Regions from separate parts of the Homo sapiens genome. Here region 2 is linked to region 1. The links are contacts of gene promoters, found by promoter capture Hi-C in blood cells and fetal thymus (Javierre and others, 2016). All regions are on one chromosome and are shown on one strand. Each heading gives the region's core, a stretch centred on a gene start or on the middle of the fragment in contact. The rest is flanking DNA. Distances are from core to core; before and after follow the strand shown. Region 1 holds the start of ETS1-AS1 (ETS1 antisense RNA 1). Region 2 has its middle 84 kb from the start of LINC02725.

Region 1 (6,238 bases), core at 1,841-4,340:
AGGTGAAAGGGATTTGTAGTAAGCACCCTGGCTCACCATAAAGCATGTAACAGTCTATTCTTTCTCATAAAGATGGAGGAAATTGAGTTCATTTCATGTATTTCCCTTATCTTACAAATAATGTATATAGCAGTTGTACATCTTACCTTTGTGGAAGCCAGTGAAATAAAAGATTCAACTCGAAGTTCGGAAATTCCTGAAGACTGCTTCTGAGCAGCCATCTGAGAATATGAATAGCGTGATGTATAAAACGTCCAGGCTGACAATCAAACAACTGATTTACTTCGTGGTGAGCCAAATGTCATTTTTTACATGAAGTCTCAGAATAAAAAATTAGATAAAAAGTAAAATGAATATTGTGATCTTAGCAACATTCTCCTTTAAGGGGATGGGAGGAATGGGAGGAACAGAATAAAACTTTACGAAGACCTTTTTAGTTAGAAATGAGTCAGTTGGTTGGATCTTTAATCTTAAACTTTGGGCAAATTTGAGTCTCACTTCAGACCGAACTAGGCAAAACAAAACTGGTATCTGAGCTTCATTTTTCTGTAAAAATGTTACGGGGATGTTAGGAAGTTAACTGTTCATTAATTAAATAATGAACATAATTTATGGGGCTCTTACTACCTTGAGCTAAACACCATGGAGTGTAATAATGACTGAACCTCAGTTGCTGCCTTTAAAGAGTGTAGGAGACTGACACGCATATTCAAATATGTACTAGGAGTGTGCTCTTGAGCTGAGCAGAAAAGTGGCAACTTGCAGGGGTGGGGTGACAGCTTCTGTGAGGGAAATTCTTTGTGTACTGCAAATGTCCATGTGAGGAAAAGACTGAGAAACACACTCTATATTCTGCCTAGATTGTCAGCTTGACCTTCCCTTGTGTCTTCTGTGACCTCCTGAGATCCTTTCACCTCCATTCTATCCTGGATCCTTTGCATCTCTTCCAGCATGAGGACCTCCCATTGATCTGTTTTCTGTAGTTCCATGACTGTTGGCCATGCAAGACAATTAATTAAAGTATGGGATACTTTACTAGGTCTTAACTGCATTTTGAAATCTTGGGGACTGAAGTCCCAGAACGACAAGAACATAAAATCACTGTGACTCTACCTCCTCATCTCCTCCCCTTCTCTGTCCTCGACTTACACTTCCATTGTTCTCAGAGGACTTCCCTTCCACTACTTCCTCCTGTACCACCGTCCCTTTTCCTTTCAGGGCTATTTCTCCTTTTTGTGCTCCACTTATCTCTGCTTCTTGATCTCTGGGGTGGTAAATGTTAGTCTTTTGGGGCAATTGATTTGGCATTTTAAATGAAAGTAGTGGGGAGAGGGGAAAAGATTCCACAGTGAAATTGTCTTAATGTAAGATTCAAACCACAACTGCAGAGAACATCTGTTTTGAAGTTTGATGTTGTCTTTGTAACCCAAGAGAAAAGCAGAGTAAGATCAGAGGAAGGCCTTAGCCTTCCACCAGGATGAAACCACCTGCAGCCTTGGACAGTGGGTGAAATCCTGTAGCCCTGGGATGCAGAGCTTCTAGGAGACTGGCTGTCCTCTTCTCTCATATTATTAAAGGATGTTGGTTCTCTTGCCATCTGTGCTATTGCCATTATCCCTCTACCTCCTCAAGAGTCCAATTCAGGACAATTTAAATTGGAATCCCAATTACATGATCCCCAAAGGCTCACAGAGTAGCCTGCATTCTGCATTTGCAGCAATTCCAGGCAACATGCTCAGCCTGCTTCAGGGAAGCACACAACACTGAGTGTGGATGAGACCTCAGAACCCTCTAACCTTGGGCAGCTCCTTACCTCTTCCTGTCTGAGCCATGTTTGATTTGCTGCAAGAGGAATACGTGTCTAAACTGCTGGATTTTAAAATGTCGCTTGGTCTGTGGATTAGGCCAATCCACCCCACATTGTTGGGGCTGCAGATGCAGTTGAATGGTTCATAATTATAGTCTAAAGAAACTGCAGACAGCAATAGAGCCAACCCAGGCCCTTTCTCTCCTGACAGCCCATGCCAAGCTGTCTCCCACAGGGAACCATAGTGTGGTTATCCTGCAATGTATTTGCCCAAAGACAATACATCCAGTGTAGAGAAGTTGGATTTCTAGAAATTGAGTCTGCTCATCTATCTACTCCCATGTCCATTGTATCCTGTCTTGTGTCTCAAGGGTGTCTGGTACTTCTCCTGCCAAAGTGAAATGCAAAGTAAATGCAAGGAGATGCCAGGGAGAGAACTGCTATCAGGGCATCTGGTTCTAGTACTGACACTGACTTTTTTAGATTGTGTGGCCCTGGAAATAATAATTTCCTCACTCACACTCATTTTTCACCTCTGGTAAATAGGAGTGCTGGACTTGGAGAGCACTGATAAACTCCCATTGAGCTCTAACATGTGACAAATCCAAGACCTAAGGTTTTGTCTCCAAAGAGGCACTACAAATGTGATCTTCTTTCAGAATTTAAACTGTCACTTTTCTGTGACTCAAAACAAATATAAATCTAGTTCTCTTCTCCAATCAGGTAGTTCTCGAATTTCTCAAGTGAGGCTGATGCTGGGCAGGTTGCCAGTTTAAGAACTGAGGAAGGGTCTTGAAGAGATTTTTAAATGAAATGTGGTGATAGTTGTTCTATCTCTCGCTGGAGATCGTTCAGGAAAATTGAGCATCCAAGCTATTCTGCAAAGAGATGGCTGTAGACAGACATTTAATGTGATTTCCCACATATTCTACCGTATACTAGATCTTAATAACAATAATCAAATACTAATTCTCACCTAGACACTGTGCTAAATTCTTTGCATACATTATCTCATTTAATCATTCAAATAGCCTTAAAAGGTGTGTGCTGCTATTATCCCTAGTTGAAACATGGAGGAACTGAGGTTCGGGATTGTTTAAATGACTTACCTGTGGCAATTCAGCTGGCTAGTTGGTAGAGTAAGAATTTGAACCTGAGTCTTATTCCAAAGCCCACACTACTATCCTCTTTGTTTTCTTATATTGAGCTTTCCAGGGCAAACAGGCTCCCAAGTCCTCCCCTCTCCCCCAACCCCACCCCACCCTCCCTTCTTCCCTCCTGACTGCAGCTCCTCCTACCCTCATTGTTTATTGTGCCTTCTAAACAATAGCCAATGAGTCTGTGTTCCATTCTAGGGAGAGCTAGGGCTGATTTTATTCCCTGAAACAGAGATGAGGTTGTGACACAAAAAGGTTAAGTGGCTTTGGTGAGGTCACAGAGCCAGCCTGCAGTCAGCAACAGTACCATCTGAGTCCCCTGGCTTGGGTCCCTTAACTGACCCTAAGGCTTTTTGGCATCCAAGTTTAATTAAGAGAGTTATTTTAATTTTCCTTCCTATCTCTAATTTTCCATTTTATTGCTGCTTGATAATGTAGATATTGAAGTGCCAGGCATTTTTCTTCCCTAGTGTGACTTTTAATGACTAAACTTCTCACATAGAAACCACTTGCCTTAGAAGTAAGCTTTCAAAGCTTGTTTCTGTGTATGACAGAGACTGTTGCCTTTTCTCAGAGAAAAATGAGACCACAAATGCAGCTCAGACAGGTTGTTGTTAATTGAGGGCTTTTTTTTTTTTTTTTTTTTTTCTAAATCTTACATTTATACCAGTAAATCAACATCTGTGAGTCATAAACTGGTTCTGGATCAGCCGTTAGTGGTCTGAATGTTTTTGTACCTACCTTCAGTAAAGCATATTTTAGCTCAAAACTCAGAGATTCTTTGTTTTGTTGAAGTTCAAGACTCAGGAGTAGATAACATGCTAGGACACTTCTGGAGAGGGAAAGTCTGTCTTCCATGATTGTTCAACATTAAGTGTATATTTATATTTCTTTTTTATTGAAGTTGGGGTGGAGTTGAGGGAGGAGTATAAATAAAAAAGAAAGTATGCTTTTTACATACTCCATGTGCTTGAGGAATTCCTGTATGAAGGTGACTATTTTCTTAATATTATTGTCTAGCTCCACTCTTCTGTTCCCCAACTCCTGCGGACTTTTCTTGGCCCTTATTGACTTCACGTTCCTAGTGTAAGGCAATTCAGCACTTGGTAGGATATAATTAGCCGAAGTCTAAGGAATGCTTAAAAATACAATTCTGTTTTTTCCCAAATGCAGGAGGAACAGACTGCTGCAGTACAAGCACAAGCACAGAAGTATTTATTTGATTGATTTTTTTTTTTCCTGAGTGCCTTAAAAACCAGATATGGTATTGAAGTATCTTGCCCAAGTGGATGAAAGGCAACGCTTGGCTGCTGTTGTTTGGCTGGTGGGGACACTGAGGCATACATGTAACCGAGTGGACGTGAGTGCTGGGGATAGAGGTTCTGCTCTACTATGAAGGGAAAAGGGCACAGCCTCTGACACTTTTTAGTTCATCTTCACAAGCCAGAGCATATCAAACTCACTTAATCATTGAATTAGGAAGCCCATAGTGACCAAAAAGTTGATAGTTCATCATTCAACACATATTTATTGAGCTCTGTAATGTCTTAGGCACTAGGCTAGGCATCAATGTTTTAGCGTATGATAACATAGAAATATCATTTAAAGTCCATATGAACATTTAGAAAAATCTACTTGTGTCCTAAAGAGAATGAATAAAAATTTCATTTATCAACATTGATTAGATTAATGAAACATGACCCTGGCAGACCTGATCAGATTATTATATCTTAAATATGTAAAAAATATTTTAACATGACCTTATTAGTGCTCTTCATCCAAATCCAGGGTTCGATGCATAACTTCTGATGGCATAAATATTCATAATTAATATCATCTGGAGGTAACTTTCCTGGCAGCCTGTGGTGGCGCCTGGCTATCTCTCCAAACTGCTGCTTTACGCAACCCTATTCCTTGATTTGGACATTCACTCATTTTGTTTCTGTGCTTCAGGACTGGATTAGGAAACGGATGATTGACTATCTGAGTTGTCACTATGGAAGAATTAGAAAGAATAATTTTCCTCATTGCTAGAGTGGAAAGTGTTTACAGTTTAATCATGGTGGGCTTTTTTAGTATCTAATTTGGGTGGATGTTAGCAGCAGTGTTTAGGCTAGTCTGGGGAAGAAAGTTGAGGAGCAAACTGGGGAAGAGAGAAAGGAGTTGCTCTGAGGAATCTGCATTTGAAAATAGAGAAGTACTCACACTTGGATTAAAAAATGCCAACATTTTCTCAATACAACATCAACAAAACAAAATTCCCCAAAGCAACTCTAGATTTGTTCACTTCTTCTCCTGATGAATTCATAGTGAGTAAGGCAGAATTGATTCAAGAACCTTTTTTTTTTTGTGGTTCATTTGGACGTGTAAATGTACAATTCATTCATCAGCTGTTTCTCTAGGCTTTTCCCAGGACCAGAAGGGTCTGTTCTTGTCATCTGGAGGCCAGCATTGTTTTCTCATACCTTGTGGAAACACAGCTGGATTGCAACAGTCTTTGTTCTTTCAAAAATTAGGACTATCACATACAAATATTTTCCTCTGGTCACTAAGGAGGGATTTAATCTGGAGTTTAGACCAGGAGCCACAGATTTTTCTGTTCCTGGCTTCCTCCCCGATTTGCTGTGGGAAATCTGCAAATTACTAAGGCTTCAAGGGCACAAAACTGGGATTAGATGAAGGTAAGCCTGTGTGTCAAAACTTACCAGAGGCAGAGGTTACAGTTACAGTCAAATGCTGGGAGTTCAAATGTGCTTAGAAATCAGGAAACATTAAAAATAGCTTTCTCTGAGATTGCTCAGGAAGATTTATGTTTAATCTTTCTGTTAATCAAAGATGGAGCTCAGTGCCTGGTTCTAGCTATGTATTTAGATATATACATGTACTGGTTGATTTGTTAATTAGGACAAACTATCTCTATTACAACCAATGTATTAGTGGCAAACCATGAATTATTCGGGTTCATTTTGTTTTATCTCTAGTGTTGGGGGTTCCCAAATGGAACAGAAACTGTGCATTGTGATTCTGTCATGGCTGCCAATGATGTACTCCAGAAATTCAAAACCACAGAGCCTCTGCATCACTTTTTTGGTGGCGGTCGTGGGAGGGTTGTTAGTTTTATCTAAAAGAGGAGAGTCTGTGAAAGGAAAGACAAAGCTTTGGCCAATGGTGACATAATTAGAGGAACAGAATAATTAGAAATAAATCATAACTTCCCCTTCAACCCAACCACTGCTGGAGGTAAATTGGAAGCTTACGGAAGCTCATGGCTGGG
Region 2 (6,238 bases), core at 1,470-3,969, 510 kb after region 1:
GTGAGCTCCCTTTTGGGCAGCTCCTGACTACACCAGCAATGTTAATTAAGTTTCTTAATCAAATCCTCAGCTCTAACGGTGTGCTTTTGCTCTGTGTGCTTTGTCTAGTTAAAATACTTCTAAAAGCAAATACCTGATTTCTAAATGAAACATACAAAACAATTGACCTCAGCCAGAGCAAAAATGCTTTTCAAAATCTTTGTATCACACTTTAATGAAGGAGAATTTGTTCCTACAAACATATTACCCTTTCTGAGGACCAAACCCATGCCCGGAAGCTCATTTCAATGCAAAAATGATTTCTGGAAGCATTCAAAATGCCAAAGCATGGTATCTCATTCCTGACCGAGACAGGACAATTTGGGGTTGGGGGAACAGGTTCCAGAATAATGACTAAATGGGCACAAATTCCAGTTCAACCACTTATTACTTACAGGGCTTTGAAGTGCGATTAAACTTCTTGGTGCATCAATATTCTCTGTACGGATGCACAGAGGGAATCATGATACTACCTTATAAAGGCCTGGTGAAAATTGGCATAATTCATATAAGATGTTTGTTCCAGTGAACACCCCCAAATGGTTAGTTTTGTTGTTGTTTTTATTGTATAACCCCTACTCTTATTAACTGCCTTACTTACATGTATTCAATCCAAACTGGCAATTATGTATCTGCAAATGAATGTGAATTATCATATCAAATAACAGAGATTCTTTCTAGTGTGTGTGTATTTGTTTTTAATAAGGACAATAATATTTTAGAAAAAAACTCTAGCTCTTTCTAATCTCCATAGCAGCCGTAATTCTTTAGGTGGTTTCAGTTTTTCTGTTTCCAAAATGTAGAGAAAATTCTCCATTTCTATTGATCTCACAGAGATGATGTGAGCACCGCTGAGATGGATGAATTTTGAGTTGTTTGTATACCTTTTTAATAGTCCCAAGTACTATTTTGTTTAGACTCAGGCATTTCTGAGGGTATTATTTTAGAACAGTAATCTTTGAGGTATTATTTTGTCTCCAAAGGATGCTACACTTTCTTTCTTTTGAAATGCTCTGTTTATAAAATTCACCAAATATTAATTCACGTTGTTATTATCAATAGTCATTTTACTAATTACCGCATGGCTTGGTATTTATTTTGCCAATGATCTACTATGTCATTAGTTCTTCCCCTAAAATAAAGATTTGTTCTACTACAGTATAAAGAGGATTTAACTCAGCAGCAAGGGGTCGGCAATCCCAACTGTGGCAAAAACAAGGTTGGAACCAGAATCCTTCAGTCTTGTTTTTCTATAAGCTTCAATAGATAATGTGAAGGATGAATAACAGTGAGATGAAGGATATTTCTGACCTTTCTTTCATGCTTTATAAAAATAAAATTTATCTCTGTCATTTATGCTTTCTTTGTTCTTCCTGAGATTTCATTATTTTACACAACTCATCGTATACAATTTTTTGTCCAATGACCTTATTTTAGAGTTCTCCTATTTTTATTCTGTGGGATAAAAATTAAATGGCAAATTCCTTTTTGTGTTGTCAAGAAGAGCTCATTTTCTCATTTTCTCTGTAATTTTTTTTCAGTTTGCTGATTTTATGTCCTCTGATTCTGGTTCTGTTAACTTTTTTCTCTTCAATTTTTATTTGTAGTTCAGGGGTACATGTGCAGGAGGTGCAGGGCTGTTACGCAGGTAAACATGTACAATGGTGGTTTGCTGCACAGATCATCCAATCACCTAGGCATTAAGTCCAGCATCCATTAGCTATTCTTCCTGATGCTCTCCCTCTCTCAACCCCCCAACAGGCCCCAGTGTATGTTGCTCCCTGCAATGCGTCAATGTGCTCTCATCATTCAACTCCTACTTATAAGTGAGAACATGTCTTGTTTTGTTTTCTGTTCCTGCATTAGTTTGTTGAGAATAACAGCTTCCAACTACATCCATGTCCTCACAAAGGACATCATCCTGTTATTTTTTATGGCTGCATAGTATTCCATTGTGTATATGTACATTCAAATGTGTACACATACATTTTCTGTATACTGTCTATCATTGATAGGCACTTAGGTTGAGTCCATGTCTTTGCTATTGTAAATAGTGTTGCAATAAACATATACGTGCATGTATCTTTATAATAGAATGATTTATATTCCTTTGGGTAGATACACAGTAATGGGATTACTGGGTCAAATGGTCAAATTTCTGCCTCTAGGTCTTTGAGGAACTGCCACACTGTCTTCCACAATGGTTGAACTAATTTACAGTCCCAACAACAGTGTAAAAGCATTTCTTTTTTTCCATACCTTCACCAGCATCTGTTGTTTCTTGACTTTTTAATAGGCATTCTGACTGGTGTGAGATGATATCTCATTATGGTTTTTATTTGCATTTCTCTAATGATCAATGATGTTGAGCTTTTTTGATGTTTGCTGGTCACATGTATGTCATCTTTTGAGAAGTGTCTGTTTAGAACCTTTGCCCACTTTTTAATGGGGTTGTTTTTTTCTTGTGAATTTGTTTAAATTTCTTATAGGCTGGATATTAGACCTTTGTCAGATGGAAAAAATTTCTCTTATTCTGTAGGTTGTCTGTTCACTCTGATGGAGTTTCTTTTGCTGTGCAGAAGCTCTTTAGTTTAATTATATCCCATTTTTCAATGTTTGCTTTTGTTGCAGTTGCTTTTGTCATTTTCTTAATGAAATCTTTGCCCTTTCCTATGTCTGGAATGGTATTGCCTAGGTTATTTTCCTGGATTTTTACAGCTTTGGGTTTTACATTTAGGTCTTTAATCTATCTTGAGTTATTTTTTGTATATGTATAAGAAATGTGTTTACTTTTAATTTTCTGCATGTGGCTAGCCAGCACTCCCAGCACCATTTATTAAAAATGATGCCTTTTCCCAGGAGAATGGCATGAACCCGGGAGGCGGAGCTTGCAGTGAGCCAAGATCACGCCACTGCACTCCAGCCTGGGCGATAGAGCGAGACTCCATCTCAAAAAAAAAAAAAAAAAAAAAAAAAAAATGATGCGTTTTCCTCATTGCTTGTTGTTGTCAGGTTTGTCAAAGATAAGATGGTTGTAGGTGTGTGGTCTTATTTCTGAGTTCTCTATTCTGTTCCATTGGTCTATGGGTCTGTTCTTGTACTAGTACCATGCTGTTTTTGTTACTGTAACTTTGTAGTATAGTTTGAAGTCAGGTAGTGTGATGCCTCCAGCTTTGTTCTTTTTACTTAGGATTGACTTAGCTATTAAGGCTCTTTTTTGGTTCCATATGAATTTTAAAACAGTTTTTTCTAATTCTGTGAAGAATGCCAATGGTAGTTTAATGGGAATAGCATTGAATCTACAAATTACTTTGGGCAGTATGGCCATTTTAATAATATTGATTCTTCCTATCCATGAGCATGGCATGTTTCTCTATTTGTTTGTGTCCACTCAGATTTCTTTGAGCAGTGGTTTGTAGTCCTCCTTGAAGAGGTCCTTCACTTCCCTTGTTAGCTGTATTCCTAGGTATTTTATTCTTTTTGTAGCAATTGTGAATGGGAGTTCATTCATGATTTGGCTCTCTGCTTGTGTGTTGTTGGTGTATAGGAATGCTAGAAATTTTTTTTCACATTGATTTTATATCCTAAGACTTTGCTGAAGTTGCTTATCAGCTTAAGTAGTTTCTGGGCTGAGAGGATAGGGTTTTCTAGATACAGGATCATGTCATCTGCAAACAATGATAATTTGACTTCCTGTCTTCCTATTTGAATTCTCTTTATTTCTTCCTCTTACCTGATTGCCCTGGCCAGAACTTCCAATACTATGTTGAATAGGAGTGGGGAGAAAGGGCATTCTTGTCTTGTGCTAGTTTTCAAGGGGAATGCTTCCAGCTTTTGCCCATTCAGCATCATATTGGCTGTGGGCTTGTCATTTATGGCTTTTATTATTTTGAGGTATGTTCCTTTAATAGCTAGTTTATTGAGAGTTTTTAGCATGAAGGGATGTTGAATTTTATCAAAGGCCTTTTCTATGTATATTAAAATAATCATGTGGTTTTTGTCTTTAGTTCTGTTTATGTAATGAATCACATTTATTGATTTTTGTAGCTTGAACCAACCTTGCCTCCCAAGGATGAGGCCAACTTGATCATGGATAAGCTTTTTGATGTGCTACTGGATTCGGTTTGCCAGTATTTTATTGAGGATTTTGGCATTGATGTTCATCAGGGATATTGGCCTGAAGTTTACTTTTTTTGTTGTATCTCTGCCATGTTTTGGTATCAGGATGATGCTGGCCTCATAAAACAAGTTAGGGAAGAGTCCCTTCTATTCATTTTTTTTTGAATAGTTTCAGTAGAAATAGAACCAGCTGTTCTTTGTACATCTGGTAGAATTCAGCTGTAAATCTGTCTGGTTCTGGGCTCTTTTTGGTTGGTAGGCTATCTATTACTGCCTCAATTTCAGAACTTGTTATTGGTTTATTCAAGAATTCAATTTCTTACTGGTTCACCTTACTGGGAGGGTGTATGCATCCAGGAATTTTTCAATTTCTTCTAGATTTTCTAGTTTATGTGCATAGAGGTGTTTACAATATTCTCTGATGGCTGTTTGCATTTCTGTGAGGTCATTGGTAATATCCTCTTTATCATTTTTTATTATGTCTATTTGATTTTTCCCTCTTTTCTTCTTTATTAGTCAAACTATGAGTCTATCTATTTTATAATTTTTTTCGACAACCAGCTCATAGATTTGTTGATTTTTTGAAGGGTTTTTCGTGTCTCTATCTCCTTCAGTTCTGCTCTAATCTTGGTTATTTCTTGCCTTCTACTAGCTTTTGGGTTTGTTAGCTCCTGGTTCTCCAGTTCTTTTAGTTGGGTTGTTAGGTTGTTAATTTGACATCTTTCTGGCTTATTTGTGTAAGCATTTAGTGCTATAAATTTCCCTCTTAACACTGCTTTAGCTGCATTCCAGAGATTCTGGTATGTTGTTTCTTCATTCTCATTAGTTTCAAAGAACTTCTTGATTTCTGCCTTAATTTCATTATTTACCCAGGAGTCATGCAGGTTGCTCAGTTTACATGTAGTTGTGTGGTTTTGAGTGGATTTCTCAGTCTTGAGTTCTAATTTGATTGTGGGGTGGTCTATGAAACTTTTTGTTATTATTTCAGTTCTTTTGCATTTGCTGAGGAATGTTTTACTTCCGATTATGTGATCAATTTTAGAATAAGTGTCGTGAGAAGAATGTATACTCTGTTGTTTTGGGGTGAAGAGTTCTGTAGATATCTGTTAGGTTCACTTGATCCAGAGCTGAGTTCAGGTCCTGAATATATTTGTTAATTTTCTTTCTTGATGATCTAGTCTAATATTGTCATGGGGTGTTAAAGTCTCCCACTATTATTGTGTGGGACACTAAGTCTCTTCATAGGTCTCTAAGAACTTGCTTTATGAATCTCAGTGCTCCTGTGGTGGGTGCATATATATTTAGGATAGTTAGCTCTTCTTGCTGAATTGAACCCTTTACCATTGTTCAATACCCTCCTTTGTCCTTTTTTATCTTTGTTGGCTTAAAGTCTGTTTTGTCAGAAACTAGAACCACAACCCCTGCTTTTTTTCTGTTTTCCATTTGCTTGATAAATTTTCCTCCATCTTTTTATTTTGAGCCTATGTGTGTCTTTGCACGTGAGATGGGTCTCTTGAAGACAGCAGACCAATGAGCCTTGGTGCTTTATCCAGCTTGCCATTCTGTGTCTTTTAATTCTAGCATTTAGCTTATTTACATTTAAAGTTAGTATTGTTATGTGTGAATTTGATCCTGTCATCATGATGCTAGCTGGTTATTTTGCAGGCTTGTTTATGTGGTTGCTTCATAGTGTTACTGGTCTCTGTACTTCAGTGTGTTTTTGTAGAGGCTGGTGACAGTTTTTTTCTTTCCATGTTTAGTGCTTTCTTCAGGCGCTCTTGCAAGGCAGGCCTTGTGGTGAATTTCCTCAGCATTTCCCTGTCTGAAAAGGTTTATATTTCTCCTTCACTTATGAAGTTTAGTTTGGTTTGGTATAAAATTCTGGGTTGAAAATTCTTTTCTTTAATAATGTTGAATATTGGTGCCAATCTCTTCTGGCTTGTAGTGTTTCCACTGAGAAGTCTGCTGTTAGTCTGATGGGTTTCCTTTTGTAGGTGACTTTATCTTTCTCTCTGGCTGCATTTAACATTTTTTCTTTCATGTCCACCTTGGAGAATCTGAAGATTATATGTCTTGGGGT

Evidence for each region. Contacts are between HindIII fragments. The CHiCAGO score rates a contact against its expected background, and 5 or more counts as called.
Region 2: a contact is called between a fragment that was not itself captured here and the fragment with the promoter of ETS1-AS1 in region 1, in 1 of 17 cell types (total CD8 T cells). The highest score is 5.7, in total CD8 T cells.

The regions. Positions count from the first base shown.
Region 1 is chr11:128,522,994-128,529,231 of GRCh38, reverse strand. ETS1-AS1 (ETS1 antisense RNA 1) reads right to left here and starts at 3,090. Exons shown (of 4, transcript NR_120581.1): 1 at 2,917-3,090; 2 at 1,814-2,699; 3 at 147-221. All of the region lies in intron 3 of ETS1 (ETS proto-oncogene 1, transcription factor), which reads left to right. RefSeq lists a cis regulatory region at 5,764-6,238. The HindIII fragment of the contact is 5,425 bases long and covers 1-3,491 here.
Region 2 is chr11:128,008,155-128,014,392 of GRCh38, reverse strand. No RefSeq gene overlaps it. Among named protein-coding and RNA genes, the nearest start is that of LINC02725, 84 kb to the left of the region's middle. The HindIII fragment of the contact is 2,841 bases long and covers 1,299-4,139 here.